Linked DNA regions of Homo sapiens: regions 1 and 2 are each linked to region 3. Evidence: promoter capture Hi-C in 16 types of primary human blood cells and fetal thymus (Javierre and others, 2016). All regions are on one chromosome and are shown on one strand. Each heading gives the region's core, a stretch centred on a gene start or on the middle of the fragment in contact. The rest is flanking DNA. Distances are from core to core; before and after follow the strand shown.

Region 1 (4,261 bases), core at 690-3,189, 150 kb after region 3:
GGCACATGACCCTGGCTGAGCCAATAAGAACAGGCATCCCCCTGGCCACAGTGATTTGTTCAGGGATGGGCAAATGCCCTATCATAGACAGTGAGATGCACTGAGGGTTTCTCCTGTAATTTTGACAAATAGACTTCCACTAGTTCTCATTGGATTTTAGAAGGAGAATGTGAAACTTGAAAATGCTGATCTCACCGTGACATGGAGAATAAAGTCAGCTTTGTAGAAGACAGAGCAGGGTGATGGGGGAAAATGCATCTTAAAAAATTACTTTAAAATTTATTTTTGGCCAGGCATGGTGGCTCATGCCTGTAATCCCAGCACTTTGGGCAGCTGAGGTGAGAGGATCACTTGAGATCAGGAGTTCAGGACCAGCCTGGCTAACATGGCAAAACCCTGTCTCTACTAAAAATACAAACATTAGCCAGGTGTGGTGGCAGATGCCTGTAATCCCAGCTACTTGGGAGGCTGAGGAAGGAGAATCGCTTGAATCTGGGAGGGGGAGGTGGCAGTGAGCCAAGATTGCGCCACTGCACTCCAGCCTGGGCGACAGAGCAAGACTCCCCCTCAAAGGAAAAAAATTATTTTCAGTACATTTCACCCTTTTTGGTATGGAGCGCTGTTAAGTTTTTGGCAAATGCATGGAGTTGTGTAAGCATCGGCACGGTCAGGACACAGAAGAGCTCCATCACCCCTCTTCCAATTCCCTTGTTTAAAATTTTTGTAGTCAAACTCTTTCCAGCCCCTTCTGTCCGGCAGTCACCGATGTGTTCTTCATCCCTCTGGTTCAATTTTTCTAGAGTGTTATGTAAGTGCACTTGGACAGCATGTGGCTTTCTGAGGTTGCCTTCTTTCACTCAGCATGATGTATTTGGGACTTATCCATGATGCTGCCTGTCCATCATTTGCTCCTCTTTACTGCCGAGTAGTGTTCCACCCAACACAGGTACCGAGGCTTCTTTAACCATTCCCTCAAATGACATTTGTGAAGATGCACAGTGATGACACTGCTTCACTGCTGGATCCAGCCAGACCTGAAGCCAGCCTATGCCAGCTATGACTGACCTTAAATTCCAATTTTGTTTAGACTTACATGGTTTGCATTCTTTCATTTCATTCTGGGAAATGAAAGAATCATTTTCGATTTCAGTAATGAACAGATGAAGGAGAAACAAGTCTGAATCAGTGAGAAGTCCGCAGAGGCACCACCTGTGACATTCCTATACATGCAGTTGCACGATAACAAGTCACGCCACTGGGTTACCTCATGGTGTGTCCCTGATGCACCTGGCAGCAGGTGACACCCCATTTGACACAGAGGGAAATCGAATGGGAGGATGAAGTGACTTGCCTTGGTACATAAATCCAACTGATGGCAGACCCGGGGCTCCAGCCCAGGTGTCTGTCTGCCTTTTGTAAGCCTCAGCTGCTTCCCAATCACACAGTGGCAGAGCTGTCAAGATTACTCAGTGAATTTTCCTCTCTTATTTAAACAGTCTCCAAGGTGTCCAATTTAGAATAAATATAAATGGAAATTATAACAAGGTCATCAAAATTTCCTACTGTTTAACAGCTGGTGGTACCTATAGGAGGTCAAAATTACTGTCACTAAGCAATCTATATAATCCATTTAATAATGCTCCCCCTGCATCTGGCATGGCATGGAAATCTCTCATGTTGGCTGAACAGCTCTTCACTTTTGTTTCTCTGAGTGTCTTTATCTCCTCCTTGCTCACAAAAACACAGTTTACATAAGGAAGTGCTATGCCATTTGTTTCCACTTTTTAGTAGGGATGGGACCACTGCTGTCCAAATCGTAAGCCTATACCATGTTGGTTTATTTGGTTGTCACTAGCTGCTGTGACAAATAAACTCCTAGGCGTGGCTTAACACAATAAAAGATTGCTTCCTGCTCACATCTAGTGTGGGTGTTCACATTTGGCAGGCAGCTTTCCTCGCGTGGAGGTTCCAGGGCCGGGGCTCCTTCCAGGTGATGGCTTTGTCATGCCCTAGGGCTTCAGTGTTTCCTGCTTCTCACTGGTGGAAGGTAAAAGTTACCTGTTTTGGCTTTAATGTGATATGTGACACTCCTGCTTCTCTTTCAAGAAGAAGTCTTGTGGCCATACGTGGATACAGGAGAGGCTGGGAAAGTCCCTGCCTGAGCAGCCATATGCAATACGGTCGACGAGGAAGTTTTTGATTTTCCTCTCCTTGACAGGTGGCCATCTCACCCACAGGCCCAATAATGTCTTGTTATCTAGATTAAGGGTGTTCTCCCCTCATCCATATACTCAAATTTCCGGTATTCTGTTCTATGCTATTTTCCCCTGTTTGGCTAGGTTTGGGCTCCTGCACACAAAGGCTTCTCATCCTCAAAGTCATACATGCAGATGGCGAAATTAAAATGGTACAGAATAACTTTGAAAGAATGGCCATAGTCTTCCATTCCTCTATATCCTTGATCTCCTTCCCCAAAGTCCGCCACTTCTAGCCATTTCTGGTTTTAGTTCTTCTGGTGATGACTTCTATAATTATTCATCTACCTTGACTTCTTGAGTTAATAAATGTAGACAGCAGCGCTCTCTCTATAAAAGATGAGGATTTAGCTAATGTACACACCTTCTTCCCTTTTTCACATTTTAATTGTTTTTACTTATTTGCATTAAAAATATCAACTTTATTCCATTTATTCATTTATTCTTTCAACACACATTTATTTCCTACTTACTTTGGGCCAGGCACTCTGCCATGTACTTCTCTTTTCTTATTATTTAGGATTGTGTTTGGCTGCAAGTAACAGAAGCCCTGGCCACAGTGGCTTAGGCGAGTAGGATTTGATCTTATTTTTTCTTTGATCCCATGCTGTGACCAGCTCTCTTGTCTTCTCACATTGTGTCCTCAGCGTGTACCTTTGTTCCTCCTGGTTGCACAGTGGCTGCTCTGTCACCATCCCTCTCAGGACGCAGCACCAACACCCACACTTGGATGCCTGACATTTCTCTGGAGGGTTAACTCAGTGTCGAGGAGTTGCCTTTTGAAGAGCTACTGGGGAGAAGTATGAAGCATTCTGGTTTTTCCTGAGGATGGGGGCACTGGAAGGAGGTCTGCCTGGAGTGGGTGTCTCATCTTCAGAATCTGTTACTCTCCTTTTTTGCGGCTCTAATTTCACACCTGTCCTTACTGTACATGCCAGCAGGTAGCCAGGAGCCCCTCTGGGCTCCAGTGGGCAGAGTAGCCCCTTGATCCTTGGCAGCACATGTAGAATGTTCTGGTCTGAGGTTTCCTCTGCTGTCCTGCCCATCAGCACACTTTTATCCGCTTATTCTCTTTCTTAAATTTGTTGAAGTATTTTATTTGCAGATATCCTCCCTCCATTTCTCTTGATAATAGGTTTTTTCCTTTTTGTACTTTCATGCTTTTATTTCATTTGGGTTTCTGTGGAGATGGAGGGAATAAGTGTGCTCAGTCTGCTACTTAAAAGTAAATTCCGTATCCTTCTTTTTGAAGGAAGAATGTCAATATTTCTCTTAGATTGAATAAGCAGCACATGTTCATTCTAGAAAACTTGAAAATACGTAGAAAAATATGGCAGGAAGTTGAAAGGCATCCACACTCTCAATGTGTAGATCCTCACCTCCAGCTAACAGTCCATTTGAGTTTTGACATGGGCAACTTGACCATATGATTCTAAAGTTAACTTGGAAGGTGGAAAGCAGGGAAGTCTAGCTAATAGGATTTTGATAAAGAACAATAATGCCTCTGTATGAATTTGCTAGGGCTGCCATAACAAAGTACCACATATTGGGCCACTTAAACAGCAGAAATTTATTTTCTCACAATTCTGGAGGCTGGAAGTCCAAGACCAAGGTGCCAGCAGGTTTGTTTTCTTCTGAGGCCTCTCTTGGCTTGTAGATGGCCGCCTGCCTTCTATGCCACCACATGGTCTTCCCTGTGTGTGTCCGTTCTAATTTCCTCATCTTATGAGGACGCCAGTCCAATTGAACTGGGGGCTCTTGACCACATGTTGGCAAATAGAGCAAGGACAGCATGAAAAGGGCTGCAAGCAAGAGGAGTAACTAAATTCTGACGATGGAACACCCACTCCAGGCAGACCTCCTTCCAATGCCCCCATCCTCAGTAAAAGGCAGAATGCTTGGTACTTCTCCCCAGTAGCTCTTCAAAAAGGCAACTGCTCTCTAAGGACAATTAACCTTCCAGAGAAATGTCAGGCATCCAAGTGTGGGTGTTGGTGGTGTGTCCT
Region 2 (4,353 bases), core at 444-2,943, 220 kb after region 3:
TGGGTGCTAGGGTCTGAACGTCTGTATCCCCCACAAATTCGCATGTTGAAATTCTTATCCCCAAGGCAGAGTTATTAGGAGGTGGGGCCTTTTGGGAGATTAGGTCATCTCCCTAAAGGAATGGGATTAATGCCCTTATAAAAGAGGTTTGAGGGTGCTCTGTCACCCCTTCCACCATGCGAGGACACAGCATGACAGCCGCATCTATAAAAAAGCAAGCTCTCACCCGGCACTGAAACTGCTGACATCTTGCTCTTGGACTTCAGCCTCCAGAACTGTGAGAAATAAATTTCTGTTGTTTATAAGCCTCCAAGTTTGTGGTATTTTGTTAGACTGTCCCGAACAGATTAAGGCAATGAGCATTTTGGGTTGTTTCCATTTTGGGCTGATGGCAGGGCTGTCGTGCACCTTCTTGTATGTGTGTCTTGGGGAACAGGTGCATGTGTTTCTGTTGGGCATAAACCGAGGAGTGGCAATGCTGTTACAGGGTCTACGGAAATTCAGGCTTTGTAGTTATCACCAAATAGCTTTCCAAAGAGGTTGAACCAAATTACACTCATTCCAGCAATGTTCACGAGTCCCAGTCACTCCATGACCAGGCCACCATTTGCTTTTTTCTCTCTTTTCAGTTTAGCCATTCTGCTGAGTAAGTGTTTTGACTTTTGTACTGCACAAGGGGATACACCAGAGTGGATTGTTAATAATAATAGTGATAATGATAACTAATAATAATAATAATTGAAAAGTCAAGACAAAGACAGTCCTGGAGTGCATCAACCCTGTCTTGGCTTCAACTGTTATGGAGAGAATTACTTTGGGACTTATGTGCTCACAGGTACTCTCCTCAGTTTGTGTAGAAGCCTGCTGCCTTTACTGCAGTTTTGAGGGCACTTTTGCAGCTTGAAAGTCCACTCTTTGGAGAGTTGCTGGGCCCTAGAATGCCTGCTGAGCCAGCCACAAGGGAAGAGGGACTGAGATAGGCATCTGGTTTCTGGAGACTTCCTCGTGTCCTGGAAATCAACCACACTGGAATTTATGGATCCCCTTATTTTCCAAATTGCAAATGCAGCAAGGGACCCTCTTGGGTGTGGCTTCACTGTGATCCTGGAGGCTACTGGAACCCGAGGAGCCCTGTCCCGTGAGGAGGCATCCGGCGGCAGTGCTTGTGGTGTGCACAGGAGCTGATTGAGGGGGGGCAACACTCCTAAGAGGGGTGGGAAGACTGAGGCGAGCGAGAAAAATAATTGTGTCCCAAGCCTCAGTGCCAAGTGGGGTGCTTGGCTGTGGACAGTGGAGTGGAGTGAGTGGAGTGGAGTGGAGTGGAGTGGAGGAGTGGAGTGGAGTGGAGTGGAGGAGTGGAGTGGAGTGGAGGAGTGGAGTGGAGTGGAGTGGAGTGAGTGGAGTGGAGTGGAGTGGAGTGGAGGAGTGGAGTGGAGTGGAGTGAGTGGAGTGGAGTGAGTGGAGTGGAGTGGAGTGGAGTGAGTGGAGTGGAGTGAGTGAGTGGAGTGGAGGAGTGGAGTGGAGTGGAGGAGTGGAGTGGAGTGGAGTGGAGGAGTGGAGTGGAGTGGAGTGGAGGAGTGGAGTGGAGGAGTGGAGTGGAGTGGAGTGAGTGGAGTGGAGTGGAGTGAGTGGAGTGGAGTGGAGTGGAGTGAGTGAGTGGAGTGGAGTGGAGGAGTGGAGTGGAGTGGAGTGGAGGAGTGGAGTGGAGTGGAGTGGAGGAGTGGAGTGGAGTGGAGTGGAGGAGTGGAGTGGAGTGGAGGAGTGGAGTGGAGTGGAGTGAGTGGAGTGGAGTGGAGTGAGTGGAGTGGAGGAGTGGAGTGGAGTGGAGTGGAGTGGAGTGGAGGAGTGGAGTGGAGTGGAGGAGTGGAGTGGAGTGGAGTGGAGGAGTGGAGTGGAGTGGAGGAGTGGAGTGGAGTGGAGGAGTGGAGTGGAGTGGAGTGGAGGAGTGGAGTGGAGTGGAGTGGAGGAGTGGAGTGGAGTGGAGTGAGTGGAGTGGAGTGGAGTGGAGGAGTGGAGTGGAGTGAGTGGAGTGGAGTGGAGTGGAGTGAGTGGAGTGGAGTGGAGTGGAGTGAGTGGAGTGGAGTGGAGTGAGTGGAGTGGAGTGGAGTGGAGTGAGTGGAGTGGAGTGGAGTGAGTGGAGTGGAGTGAGTGGAGTGGAGTGGAGGAGTGGAGTGAGTGGAGTGGAGTGGAGTGGAGTGGAGTGAGTGGAGTGAGTGGAGTGGAGGAGTGGAGTGGAGTGGAGTGAGTGGAGTGGAGTGGAGTGGAGGAGTGGAGTGGAGTGAGTGGAGTGGAGTGGAGTGGAGGAGTGGAGTGGAGTGGAGTGAGTGGAGTGGAGTGAGTGGAGTGGAGTGAGTGGAGTGGAGTGGAGTGAGTGGAGTGGAGTGGAGTGAGTGGAGTGGAGTGGAGGAGTGGAGTGGAGTGAGTGGAGTGGAGTGGAGTGGAGTGGAGTGGAGTGAGTGAGTGGAGTGGAGTGGAGTGGAGTGAGTGGAGTGGAGGAGTGAGTGGAGTGGAGTGAGTGGAGTGGAGTGGAGTGAGTGGAGTGGAGTGAGTGGAGTGGAGTGGAGTGAGTGGAGTGGAGTGGAGTGGAGGAGTGGAGTGGAGTGGAGTGAGTGGAGTGGAGTGGAGTGAGTGAGTGGAGTGGAGTGAGTGGAGTGGAGTGGAGTGAGTGGAGTGGAGGAGTGGAGTGGAGTGGAGTGGAGTGGAGTGAGTGGAGTGGAGTGAGTGGAGTGGAGTGGAGTGAGTGGAGTGGAGTGAGTGGAGTGGAGTGAGTGGAGTGGAGTGGAGTGGAGTGGAGTGAGTGGAGTGAGTGGAGTGGAGTGGAGGAGTGGAGTGGAGTGAGTGGAGTGGAGTGGAGTGGAGTGAGTGGAGTGGAGTGAGTGGAGTGGAGGAGTGGAGTGGAGTGGAGTGGAGTGAGTGGAGGAGTGGAGTGGAGTGGAGTGGTCAGGGAGTGAAACTGAGACAGGGGACAAAGTAGAGATGCCCACACAAGAACAGAAAACCAAACACCGCGTGTTCTCACTCGTAAGTGGGAGATGAACAATGTGAATACATGGGCATAGGGAGGGGAACATCACACACTGGGGCCTGTCAGAGGGTGGGGGGGGGCCTAGGGGAGGGAGAGCATTAGGAGAAATACCTAATGTAGATGACAGGTTGATGGGTGCAGCAAACCACCATGGCATGGGTATACCTATGTAACAAACCTGCACGTTCAGCACATGTACCCCAGAACTTAAAGTATAATAATAATAAAAACAAACAAACAAAAATAAAAACCGGAGATGCCCAGTTGGCCAAACCTCTAGGGTACGTGTGAGGGGTTCCCTGCCTCTGGGAAGGAAAGTAAATGGATGGCTGCTAGGATGGGCTGTCATCTGGGCTCCAGTTGACCGGGGGAAGGTAAAGGGTTGGTTGCTGTCTTGAGAGCTTAGCAGCAATTAGCTAGAAATGCGTTTGTGGTGTCATGGGGCCGATCATCCCACCCAGACGGCAACCCGGAGGGGCCACCTTGGTCTTTCCTCTGCTTGTCTTCAAATGTAATAACTTCACTAAGGGGAAGCAGTCCGATGGTCCTGATGTGCAGCCTGCAGGTGCTGGGAAGGCTGTGCTGGTTGACAAAATATTTCAAAATGTTGACATTTGTTGGCTAATGGTCAACTTGTCTCAAGTCCTGCCTCCCTGCCTTCCTTGGGTCCCCTGGACCTGTTTAGGACCAGCAAGCACTGTGTTTCCTCAGCCCCTGCCACGGCACCCCCCGTGCTAGGAAATGCTCTATGGAAGATTTGGACTGTCTCCCCGCACTGGACCCTCTGCTTCTCAGACTCTGAGGAAGCGTTTGCCCACTGTGAGAGTCTCTGTCGGGATAAACCAGAGGCTAGAAGCCCCAGTGGAAGAAGCATCGTGCACGGAGTCCCATGAATCAATTCAGAGCTGATGAATGAGGAAGCCCCTGAGGACGAGGGGACCTGTGTCTTAGTTTTGGGTCAGAATAAAAGAAGGAACAAAAATCTCACAGAAGAACCCTCCGTGGGTACGTGTTGTATCTCTAAGACTGAAGGGAGAGGGGCCTGGCAATGAGGGCTCAATTAAGGAGCTAAAGTGTGAGACATTATTGTCCCCAGACTTAACTACTGAGGCATTTGTCAGGCAATAAATGATGCAATGTGTGTCATAAAAGAAATCCTCTGTTAATGGGCCAGTGCAGGAGGGAAAGGAGTGGGGTTTGGAGTGAGGGGATCTGGTTTCGAATCCTGGCTCTGCCAGAACCAGCTGTGTGACCTTCAGCCGGTCGTGCGCTATCGGGTGGGAGGGTCTGATTTGTTCATCTGGATGTTGAGAACAACGGTGACAGGC
Region 3 (4,356 bases), core at 280-2,779:
CCGGGAGTGGGGAGGATTGTCCTTCTGATGTGAGCTCTGGGCCCGCAGAGGAAAATCAGATCTATCATAATAATGGCCATGATGATGAGAATGATAATGTTGACACTGACTCCTTTAAATGAGTTCCGACTTCCTAGGTCAGGGGCTTTGTATGTGTTATTGGGGACACCAGGTGATGTGCAATGCCTTCCATCTCTCAGATGAGAAAACTGAGGCTCAGGGAGGAATAAGGGACTCGCCCCAGCTTGCACAGCTAAGGAGCGGCAGAGCTGGGATTCTCAGCCAAGACTCCATGACTCCAGAGCCTTCCCCAAATCTGTCTTTTCATCACCCCACGCTGCCTTATTGACCATTTTCAAAGAGTTTGACCCACTTTTTCATGGAAAACTGAGATGGCAGAGCAAGTGGCTGGTGTGGTGGGGGCTGGGGCGGAGCCAGGACTCCAAGCCACCCTCCCAGGTGGGCAACCCCCCATATCCCCTGTCCTCCCAGCGTGGTGGGGAAGCTTGAAGGCATCTGAGCGCTGCTGGAGGCTCCCCCACATGCTCCCAGCATGACTCATTCATTCGGCTTAGCCCCCCGTGGCTTTGCCCTGGTTGGGGGTGGGGCGCCCAGGAGGATCAGTGGTTTCTGGGATAATAGGTACTGGGGCTCCGTGTGACCTGTGACCTCCCTCCGCACTCTGGCTGCGTCCCTGCCCCTGGATGGAAGAATTCGACCACCTAGTACCCGGCCCTGCGCAACACCTCCGCTCCGTCACTGCCTGACCCTGCGCTGGGAACTCATTCCCGGGACCGCCAGGGAATCTGCCCTTCCCAGGAGAACTCCTGGCTGCCTCCGCGTGCTCCTAGGGCCTGCGCGAAATGGGAAGGCGCATCCTCTAGCCTGGGTAAATAAGGGACCCTGCCTCACCCGGGTGGCCATCCCCAGGCCGCCTTCGCTGTGTTTCAGGTCACCGCACCCAGCCTGCGCACCCCTAGCCCCCATCCCGGTGCCGTGCAGAGGCTCTGCACACAGCCTCGGCCTCCCGGAGGCCCTCCCCTCTCTCCTCTCCCCTCTCCCACAGGCACTCCCTAGCTGTGCCACATTTAACCCGGGACCTCCTGTCCGCGCTCAGTCTTGCAGTCTCTGGCCCCGGCAGACACCACCTCTCCAGAGGTCGCTGCCCCATCCCGGTGACCCTCCGCTGGCCTCCTCACCCCTCGACCTTGGCAACTCCTACCGCTGCGCCCCAAGACGCCGGATCTAGCTGGGCATCCCCTCTCTGCATTGCGCACCCCTCCCGCAGCCCCTGTACCCGCGAGCGCCCGCGACCCCCGGCGGGCTCCCGGAGCCTCCCGGCCGGGCGCCCTCCCCCGAACCGCCGAGCAGTGGCGCGTCCCGCCGCCTACTGGCCGGGCTGCCGCCTGTGCCCCGGCTCCCGGGCGGCCCCTCCCCCGGCCGCGGCCCCGCCCTCCGCTCCTCTCCTCCTCCTCCTCCTCCTACTCCTCCTCCTCCTCCTCCTCCCCCCGGCGCTCGCTCGCTCGCTCACTCTCTCGCTGGCTCGAGGGGCGGCCGGCAGATGGCGATGGCAGAGGCGGCGGCGGCGGCGGCGGCGCGACCGGGATGGGACGGGCGCTGGGGCGCAGGAGCCGCGGCGGCGGCGGCGGCGGGGGCCGCGCAACTCGGGCCAACTGCGGGGCAGCCGGCCAGGGCGCGGGGCGCTGAGCCTCGGCCGCCCCAGCTCCCCAGCCACGCACGGCCGAGCCCAGGAGAGCGCGCAGAGGCGCAGCCGAGGAAGCGCCGCCAGCGCCGGCGCATGCGTCTGGGGAGGAGCGGCGCGCTGGGAGCGAGCCATGCCCGGCGCCCGGGCGTAGCCGCCGGGGGCTGCTCCGGGAGCCGCGGGCCGGGCCGGGCGCGCGAGAGGAGCAGCCCCGCGCCGCACCCACCGCGCGCCGAGGACCATGCCGCCCCCGGGCCGGGCGCCGCCGCTCGGGCTCCTGCTGGCGCTGACTGCGCTCCAGTGCCCAGGTAACGCGTCCCCGGACCCCATCCCCGACCCCGGCCGAGGCGCACAAAGTTGGGTGAACGGGCGGCTACCTCCTTCTCAAGTCCCTGGCAGCGCGCATCTCCCGGACTTGGACAGACCTGGGGAGACCCTGGGAACCCAGGAGCCCCCGGCGCGTTCCCCTTTGCCTAGCGCCTGGGGAGAGCCCGCCTGCCTTCTCCCCCAAACCCTTAGCTTCCTTGCGGATCCTTTCGGGACGCACGGGGGCCACAGACCGGGGCACTCAGCCTCTCGAGGCGGGTGGGGACGCGACTGCAGGAATCGAGCCCCCTCCCCGCCCTGCCTTGGGCCAAATCCCCCCCAGGTCCCAGTTCCTCCAGGGGTTTTGCTGGGCGGGGGCGTCGACGCAGCCCTTCTCCAGTGTCTTGCTGCCCGCGGTCGCACAGTGGTGCGTTCCCGGGACACCTGCGGGCCCCGGAGATGTCTCGGCCGGCGCTGTCTGGCTTGTCCGCAGCCCCTCCCCACGCCCCGCGGCCCTCCCCTGCTTTCACACTGCCCTCCCCAAGCTACCCACCCTCGCCAAATGGCCTCCTCTTGGCCAAAGAGCAGCCCGCTGCGCGCCTCCTGCAAACGCGGTCTACTCCAGCGCCCTGACCCCAAGGCGGGCGGGAGAGGGTAGCCGCGGCCAAGCAGTCCAGGACGCGCCGGGGAGCCTGGAACGCGGTGCTGTCCAGAGCCATTGCCTGGGCACCGGGGAGCTGGACTCCCTGCTGAACCAGCTCAGCTGTCGCCCAATCCTAGTGAGTGGGAAAAGCAAAATAGTCAGGTATTGTCTGTCTTCGCTGGAGTTTGGAAAGCTTTCTACCCACCTTGGTGTGGCTACATGTTGGTTCTATAGAAAGCGTATCCTAAAATGACAATTCCTCCCCTCCCCCCACCCCATGCAAGCAGTGGAGAAAATCCTAAAGGCTCAGATGAACCCCGGGAACAGTCACGAGCAGCCTTCATGTGCTTTTGAAATCTCAGTTCTCCAAACCTTTTAAAATCAAGACCCATGATTTGGGAACAGGTAGCTTTTGCTTTAGAAAATCTCTCCCCATTTCCTTAACAAACAAATCGCACAGACAGGCAGAATGCAGTAGAAAAATACAACTATAACTTTTCGGCTTTCACTGTCTTGGTAAGGTTGCAGTTAGGAGCAAACCTGGCATGTCAACTTGATGTTCGATGTATTTTATTTGCATGGAAAAAGTCAGTGTCGGCTTCCTTTGAGATGCCCTTAAGTGACCCAAAATATTTACCAACACCTTCGACTTGAAGAAAACCTTCTATTGGAGATCTCCGTCAGCGTTCGGCTTTGGTTCAGCCTAGAGAATGGCATTGGGCTTAACGTGGATGAATCTTGCCTGCTTGGCTAAGGAGCAGCTATGATAGCTGTTTTGCTTTCGGCATTCCTCTGCGGTCCACGAGAGGGGCTGCTGCTGGGGCCGAGGCTGTTTTCTCTTAGCTGAAGCCCTGGGACCTGTTTGCAAAAGTGCAGTCCCTCGGACTTGAAAATTGCAGTTTTGTCTCTATTTTGTTTCTCCACGGGGGTCAGCATTTGCCTGGATGTGCTTATAAGTGAATATCGGAAGTCTCTCAGAGAAGCTGCCTGCATAATGCTTTGTAAGAGAATAGGATGGTCCCCCTACCACCCCCCCACCCCCGTCCCCCGCCCTCTCCCCCAGCAACAGAAGAGCCTGTGCCTGGCTCTGGAAGGCCCCATGTTGGGAGGGAAGGTGAGCTCCCACTGAAACCTGCTGCTGGCCGGCTCTTTGCCTGCTCCCCTGCTGTTCTTTGGGAGAGTCTCAGCAGGGCAGCTCGTTCCGACAAATGCCGTCCGGGCAGAGCCCCCAGTGCCATCGCCCCGTCCCTGGAAGCACATGCAAGTCTTTAACTGGTCCCTACCAGGGACATAAAGAGACGACAGTTTGATAACTCTATATTTAGCACTAGTTAGGAGGGATGGCAAAAAAAAAAAAAAAAAAAAAGAAAAAAAGAAATTCCTGAAAGATACTTAGCTGCCTACACTTGGTTTTGAGAGGTTCAGAGGAATTAACCAGAGCTTCCTTCAGGGCTGGTTGGATTTTCTGGGTGATTTCTGCCATGGTTTACCGACCCCCTTTGGCTGAGGCTCTGGAAGAGGGGCTGGAAGAGTTCAGAGGCAAAGATGCGCACACTGTCTCCCATCACACACACGCAGGGACTGGCTTCTTTGTCCCCCACCCCCCTTCCTGCGTGGGTAGCTGCCATGGTAAAGAGTAGGGTGGGTGTACTTCTTTCAGCCTTGCAAGTGCTTAAACATATGGAACTGTACTTGGTAAGAGTCA

The links. Contacts are between HindIII fragments. The CHiCAGO score rates a contact against its expected background, and 5 or more counts as called.
Region 1: a contact is called between a fragment that was not itself captured here and the fragment with the promoter of TMEM132B in region 3, in 1 of 17 cell types (monocytes). The highest score is 5.0, in monocytes.
Region 2: a fragment that was not itself captured here is called in contact with the fragment with the promoter of TMEM132B in region 3 in 7 of 17 cell types (M0 macrophages, M1 macrophages, monocytes and 4 more); the score reaches 16.6 in M0 macrophages.

Annotation. Positions count from the first base shown.
Region 1 is chr12:125,335,418-125,339,678 of GRCh38, forward strand. The region is part of intron 1 of TMEM132B (transmembrane protein 132B); the gene reads left to right. Among named protein-coding and RNA genes, the nearest start is that of TMEM132B, 150 kb to the left of the region's middle. The HindIII fragment of the contact is 7,254 bases long and covers 1-4,261 here.
Region 2 is chr12:125,408,270-125,412,622 of GRCh38, forward strand. The region is part of intron 2 of TMEM132B (transmembrane protein 132B); the gene reads left to right. Among named protein-coding and RNA genes, the nearest start is that of TMEM132B, 220 kb to the left of the region's middle. RefSeq lists a silencer at 370-558. The HindIII fragment of the contact is 5,834 bases long and covers 1-4,353 here.
Region 3 is chr12:125,184,857-125,189,212 of GRCh38, forward strand. TMEM132B (transmembrane protein 132B) reads left to right here and starts at 1,530. Exons shown (of 9, transcript NM_001366854.1): 1 at 1,530-2,010. The coding sequence starts at 1,944. RefSeq lists an enhancer at 731-1,264 and a silencer at 1,313-1,522. The HindIII fragment of the contact is 2,339 bases long and covers 504-2,842 here.